Linked DNA regions of Homo sapiens: region 2 is linked to region 1. The links are contacts of gene promoters, found by promoter capture Hi-C in human tissues and cell types (Jung and others, 2019). All regions are on one chromosome and are shown on one strand. The core of a region is centred on a gene start or on the middle of the fragment in contact, and the rest is flanking DNA. Distances in the headings are between cores, read along the strand shown. Region 1 holds the start of CHST12 (carbohydrate sulfotransferase 12). Region 2 overlaps IQCE (IQ motif containing E).

Region 1 (3,718 bases), core at 647-3,146:
GATAAAAGTTTAAACTCCCTCACACAGCATTCAGGCCCCTGCACAATCAGAAACCCATCTTTCCAGTCTTTTTTTTACTCTGTTGCCCAGGCTGGAGTGCAGAGGCCCAGTGTCGGCTCACTGCAACTTCCGCCTCCAGGTTCAAGCTATTCTCTTGACTCATCCTCCTAAGTAGCTGGGACTTCAGGTGTGCACCACCACGCCCAGCTAAATTTTGTATTTTTAGTAGAGATGGGGTTTCACCATGTTGGCCAGGCTGGTCTCGGACTCCTGACCTCAGGTGATCCGCCCGCCTCTGCCTCCCAAAGTGCTGGGATTACAGTCACGAGCCACCTCGCCCGGCCTTCCAGTCTTAGCTTCCAACCCAATCCTCAAACCCCACTTCATCAAGAACACGGCGACCCACCATCTCCCCCAAACATCACTTTCACTTCCACATCTCTGCATGCCCTTTGCCTCCAAACGCCCCAATTCATAGGTCCTCTCCACTGTGGAAAATGTCGGAAAATGTCGCCACATTCTGTTAACGCCTGCACCACAGTCTCAACTCCACACAGTTGTAGCCAGGCTGGCCGTGAGCTCCCAGGGCAAGGCCCACGCTATTACCGGCATCTACCCCAGCTTAGCATCTTGCACTCGATTGGAGGTTTGATAATAAAGCTGGAGTCAGCTGAGTGACAGCAGACAGTTACTGCTGGCCCCAAAGCGTCAGCCCAAAGTCCCATAAACTCCTTTGCAGGGAAATCAAACATCTATGCCATTCCAGGCAGGTGCTCTTTCAGATCTCAAGCGTTGCACCTTCGTGTAGCAATCTCCTCATTACCCCTGTTTTCTCTCCATCCTCACTCAGACACCAGCCCTGACTCCCAACACCAGATGCTCACGGTGAGGGGCTAACCCGGGTCCCCGCGTGGGGGTAAGTGGGGGACCCGCTGAGCTGTCCCCAACCACCCACAGCCGGGAACAGCACCGTAGGGCCTGGTGTCCTGGAAGATGTACTGCGTCCAGCACCGCGCCTGCAACTCACATTCCTATTCACCCCGGGGCTTCCGAGTCCCCACAGCCCCGCTTATGAACTAAATAATTTAATAATGCTGGAAACACTATGGCTTGTTGTGCTGCCTGCCAGACGGAGCCTCTGCCCGAGCCAAGGCTTTGCCGGCGGTGTCTCGGTGGCCGGGAGCCCGCAGAGGAGGTCTAAGTCCCACTGTTCCCGGACTAAATGCACGGTTTCCTCTCCCAGAGGGGCAGGGCTGCGGCTTCTGGAGTGAGAGGTCATTTAAGGGATACCCTGAGCGACCTGCCGGTGCTGCTGGCGTCTGCAGGCTCCAGGGCTGCGGTCGGCGGGGCCGGGGAGCCCCGTTCAGGTGACAGCAGGCACACGGGGGCCCTCGGGAGCTGGGGATCCTGGAACTCCAAGCCCGGGAATTGGTCCTACCCCTGCCGGGCGGCAGAGGCTGATGCCGGGCAGGGGGACTCCTGGGGGCCGGCGGGGCCGCTGCAGCCTCTGCTGTCGCTGAATCAGAACCACAGATTTCTCGTCCAGACCCCGAGGAGCCGCAGAACGCGCTGATCAGGGCCCCAGGGCTGGGTCCCCCTGGCCGAGGACGACGAGCGGGGCTCAGAGAGGGCGCGCGCAGGGCCAAGGTCACACTGCGCGCCGGCGCGGGAACTCGAACCCAGGCCCAAGCCGCGCCCGCCAGGCCAGGTTAAGGAGAGCCGACCCGCGCCCCTCAGCGCGGCCCGGGACCCCCGCCCGGGCCCTGGGAGCCCAGCACTGGCCGAGAGAGAGGGAGACCGCGCCCCGAGCCCGCCGCCCGCCGCGCCCCTCACCTCGCGACCCTCACCTCGCGCCCCTCACCTCGCGCCCGCAGCCGCCGCCGCCGCCCCGCGACTAGCGGACCCCCCAGAGGCAGCCCTCGCCGGCCCCGCCCCCGGCGCAGGAGCCCCTCCTACCGGTCGTCTTCTCGCGAGACGTCGCGGCCGCCGGAGGGGCCACGGAGGCCGAGGGGCGCCCGCCCTCAGCGCGCCTGCGCCCGGCCAGCCCGCCCGCCCCCGCCCTCGCGAGCCAGTGCCATGTGGCGCCGTATTTACGGCCAGAGATCGACTCCGCCCACCGGCCGCCACGAGCCACGCCCCTTTCTCAGCAGCCAATCCGCGGCGTTGACTCCGCCCCGGCGGACCGGGCGCGCGGCGGCTCGGGGACGCGCAGCTGTCTCGCCGTTCGACCCGGGAGCTCCACGTTGCAGCCAAACACGATCCCGTTAACCAACCTTTATGCAGTGCCTGTTGTCTATCCGACCCTTTCTCGAGCATCGGCTCATTGGCAAAGGATCGTGATGCTCACCGGCTGGGGCTTGAGACTCGCTGTGTGACCTTGGGCAAGTGACTTAACCTCTCTGAGGTTGTCGCCAATCCGTAAAATATAATAGGTTAGTGACCCTACCTTTCAGGGAGTATGTGAGACAAACGAGATGACACGGGTAAAGAGCTTAGCAAGATGCCTAATGCATAGTGAGCATGCAGTAATTGTTCTTGGCATCAATGTAGTTTTGTGTGTTTGTTTGTTTATTTTTTTAGAGACAGGATCTCACCGTGTCGTCCAGGATGGGGTGCAGCGGTGCAGTCACAGCTCACTGCAGCCTCGACCTCCTGGGTTCAAGCCATCCTCCCACCTCAGCCTCCCAAGTAGATGGAACTACAGACAGGTGCCACCACACCCGGCTAATTTTTAATTTTTAATAGAAACGGGGGTCTCACTATGTTGCCCAGGGTGGTCTTGAACCCCTAGACTCAAGCAATCCTCCTGCCTCAGCCTCCCAGAGCTCTGGGATTACAGGCGTGAGCCACCGCGCCAGGCCCAGTCATTTTTTTTTTAAATTATGGTAAAATATATAGAACATAAAATTTACCATCTTAACCTTTGTTGTTGTTGTTGTTGTTGTTGTTGTCGTTGTTGTTGTTGTTGAGACAGAGTCTCGCTCTGTCGCCCAGGCTGGAATACAGTGGCCCGATCTCGGCTCACTGCAAGCTCCGCCTCCCGGGTTCACGCCATTCTCCTGCCTCAGCCTCCCGGGTAGCTGGGACTTACAGGCGCCCGCCACCACGCCCGGCTAATTTTTTGTATTTTTAGTAGAGACGGGGTTTCACCGTGTTAGCCAGGATGGTCTCGAACTCCTGACCTCGTGATCCGCCCGCCTCGGCCTCCCAAAGTGCTGGGATTACAGGCGTGAGCCGCCGCGCCCGGCCCATCTTAACCATTTTTAAGCACTCCCTGCAGTGGCATTAAGCACTTTCACATCCCCACCATCCACCCCAAGAACTTTTTCAATCCGTGATATTTTTAGTTGGCCCCCTCCGATGGACTCCCGAGGCAGCCTTCCAACCAAGGTCATCTCTTCACTCTTCCACTCCCTGCAGCCAGTCCCAAAGGAGTTCCGAACCCACCGGGCCCTGGAAATGTGGAAGTGAGGGAGACGGGCAAGGCCCCTGCCCTCCTGTATTCTAGTGGGGGGGAAAAGCAACAAACAACCACCACAAAATATATGTGTATATTATATACACACTCACAGTAGATAATATGTTTATACGTATGTGTAATGCATACATGTTACCTATGTGTATGTATGTAGTATATATGTTTATATATTGTACACATACATATAGACCTGTATTATGCATGTATAATATGTCTATGTTGTATACATACATATATGCA
Region 2 (3,405 bases), core at 783-3,282, 210 kb before region 1:
GGTTCAAGTGATTCTCCTGCCTCAGCCTCCTGAGTAGCTGGGATTACTGGCATGTGCCATCACGCCCGGCTACTTTTTGTATTTTTAGTAGAGACGGGGTTTCACCATGTTGGCCAGGCTGGCCTCGAACTCCTGACCTCAGGTGATTCACTGCCTCAGCCTCCTAAAGTGCTGGGATTACGGGCACGAACCACTGTGCCCCACCCCTCAAATTTTGTATATTAGCCAGGTGCGTACCTGTAGTTTCAGCCACTTGGGAGGCTGAGGTGGGAGGATCACTTGGGCCTAGTAGTTCGACTAGCCTGGGCAACTTAGCAAGTCCTCATCTCTACAGAATTTTTATTTTTATTTTTTTGAGACAGAGTCTCGCTCTGTCGCCCAGGCTGGAGTGTAATGGCGCCATCTCGGCTCACTACAACCTCCACCTCCCAGGTTCAAGCAATTCTGCCTCAGCCTCCCGAGTAGCTGGGACTACAGACGCACGCCACCATGCCCGGCTAATTTTTGTATTTTTAGTAGAGATGGGGTGTCACCATATTGGCCAGGCTGGTCTTGAACTCCTGACCTCGTGATCCGCCTGCCTTGGCCTCCCAAAGTGCTGGGATTACAGGCGTGACAGAAATTTTTTAAAAAGTGGTTGGGCACAGTGGTGCACACCTATAGTCCCAGCTATCTGGGAGGCTGAGGCAAGAGGATTGCTTAAGCCCAAGAGTTTGAGGCTGCAGTGAGCTATGACTGCACCACTGCACTCCGGCCAGGGCAAGACAGCAAGACCCTATCTCAATTTAAAAATATACATATATTTTCACACACACACACACACACACACACACACACATATAAGATCGATAGAGAGAAAATAGGCTTGGGCAAATGCCAGAGCCAACCACAGTAACTGTGGAGGCTTCGGACAAACTCCACTCAGGATTTAGGGCCCCAGGGCAGGCAGCCACAAGCACACAAAGCCACAGATGCTCCTTGTTCTATGCAACAAAATATTGGAAAACAAAACCCAGATATCAGCTCCTTTTGGTCGTTTCCATCTGTGTTTGATTCCTCAGTAAATTATTCTTTCCCTGCTCCTGAAACAAAAATGAAATCAAATATGGAGAAATAACTCCCTCACGCACGCACATTTTTGTGTCCTCATATCTAAGGAATAGATATTCGACGGGGGACCGGGGTGTCAACAGATGTATCCGAGTTCATGCGTGGCAGGGAGCTGGCGGCGGGACCCGTCCCTCCAGCTGGCTCTCCAACCCCAAGCCTGCATTACGACCACGGCAAAATGCCAGAAGCCCAGAGAAGCGGGGTTTCTGAAGCGGATCGTTTGTTCAGCCCGAGTGCGTGGGGCAGGAACACACCTGGAGGTCATTAAAGAGAAGTCTTCACGGGGCACTCAAGGCACACTGCAAAACAACTTTTTATTTAAAAGGCCAATAATGAGAATAATGAGTTGCACAAGAATGAAAACCTTATCCCTTCCAAAAGATCGGCCTATACATTATGTATAAAGTTAGAATAATTCTAAATACAAAATGCCAAAGACCAGCGGGTCCACTCCTTCCTCTCCTAAGCCATCTTGACAGTTTCACATTTCAGCTTCCAGACGTCATTTCTGTTGCTTTTAAGGGTGCTTACCCAGCCGTGGTCTGTACCAGACAGGGTAGTTGGCACAGCGTAGGCACTGCCAGCAGGCCCTTGGGAGCTTGGCGAGGTGGGAGCCTTGAGAAATAGCTGGCTCGGACCCATGGCGGGGTTTGTGTGTCAACTCCCTGGTCCTCAGAGAATCCGAGCCACGGGAGAGCAAACGCTGCTTCCAAAACCAAAGGAGGAATTTTGCAATCGTTTAGACGGGTTATAATAGAATCTCATTCAGATCTTGAAGGTTATCGGTGCTTTCTGCAGGTTTTTATTCCTCAAAAATGCAGCCAAGCTTTGCTGTGCTTATCTTGGTGGATCTGAGCTAGGTTGGGCTATCTTTTCCTAATTCAATTGCCTTTTTTTTGCAAGGAAGGGGGTTTCTGGTCCATCGGAGGGATCAAGGGCATGGTCCTCACGTCTCGTCAGGAGACAAAAATAGACATTCAGCAGACAGACCACAGCCAGCGCATGCGACCAGCGTCGTTTGGCTATTTTAGTCTCTTCTTAATACACAGACAAACGAGCAAAGAAAAAGCTACTTTGTCCAACACCGGGCCCTGGGTTGGAGTTTAGCCCTGCTTGGCTCTGCCCGCTAGTCTCAGTCAGGTCACTCACCCCAGGCCTGCGGGAACGGTGGTCTTGGTGGTCTTCTCTGGCCCTTCCACCTCTTCTGCCTTGTGGGGACCACCCAAGCCCTCTCCCGACTTGCCCAGAGGCTGCACGCCTCTCTGGCATCACAGTCCGCACGGAGCCTGGCTGTAAGGCTCCACTGAAATCCCCCCGGCGCTGGCTTCGTGCCCCAGGCACACCCACCTCACTTCTGCCTCTTTTCTGCTGGTTTCTGGCCTGTTTGGTCCCAGCCCCTCCCTGCACTCTCTCCGCAGCTGTCTGGTGGGTGATGTGAACCAAGGGACACCCAGGGTCATGGCACTGCCTGGATTCAGTTTGGTAATCGTCGGCAGTCTGTCCCTGGCTTCTGAGCCTGGGGCCTCCTCCTCTTTCTCCCCATCCTGGATGAGCAGGACACGCTGGGGAGACAGCGTCCTACAAAGGCCTCCTAAGAGCTGTGCCCTGTGCCAGGAAAGCCTCCTGTATCTCCAAGGATGTCCCTGGAGCCCTCCAGCTGGTGCCTCTGCTGAGGTCTGTGAGCAGCGGGAATAGGCCTCTAGGGGAGGAGTTGGGGACAGGCCTCTAGGGGAGAGCACACCTCCGGGTACTGCACCTGTGGCTCACCAGCCACCTGCACGGGGCCAGCTTCAGCCTCAGCAGTGTCAGCTCAACAGACGTGACTGCTGTCAACACAGTGGGGCCAGGCCCTGGAGACTGACATCTCCTGTGGCTGCTTGTTTAAAGGGCATGGGATAGAGAAAGAGTGTGTTATTTTAAAGCTGGACTACCTAACAGCCTCTGATAGCAGATACAGCTTTGCTGCTGTTCTTGAAGTTCAAGGTGATGTGGAGGTGTTGCAGTGACAATCAGTACACCGTGAACAACACCTGCCACCAACGTCGACCCTGAAGTGGTAGATGGGGCCTGCTTTGGCACTTGACGCTGGGGCAGGAGTCCCTTTCTTGGGGACTCACTCTCTACTTCGTCTCCCCCGGGAGTTGTCTACTTTCCTAGGCCCTGCCAGCAGCCCCCACAGCTCCGCCCAGCCCACTCCACCAGCTTGCTGCTCCCATGGCTCAGCCCCACTCACAGCTCACCCCTCCCATGGCTAGGCCCCATCCACAGCTCACCCCTCCCATGACTAGGCCCCGC

Evidence for each region. Contacts are between HindIII fragments. The study calls those that stand out against the background at their distance.
Region 2: a contact is called between a fragment that was not itself captured here and the fragment with the promoter of CHST12 in region 1, in 1 of the 25 tissues and cell types used here (spleen).

Annotation. Positions count from the first base shown.
Region 1 is chr7:2,401,789-2,405,506 of GRCh38, reverse strand. CHST12 (carbohydrate sulfotransferase 12) reads right to left here and starts at 1,896. Exons shown (of 2, transcript NM_018641.5): 1 at 1,834-1,896. RefSeq lists silencers at 1,600-1,769, 1,860-2,229 and an enhancer at 2,320-2,419. The HindIII fragment of the contact is 33,157 bases long and covers 1-3,718 here.
Region 2 is chr7:2,612,729-2,616,133 of GRCh38, reverse strand. It overlaps IQCE (IQ motif containing E), which reads right to left. Exons shown (of 22, transcript NM_152558.5): 22 at 1,406-3,405. It overlaps LOC107986760 (a long non-coding RNA gene), which reads left to right. Exons shown (of 3, transcript XR_001745069.2): 3 at 1,158-1,551. Among named protein-coding and RNA genes, the nearest start is that of TTYH3, 18 kb to the left of the region's middle. The HindIII fragment of the contact is 7,391 bases long and covers 1-3,405 here.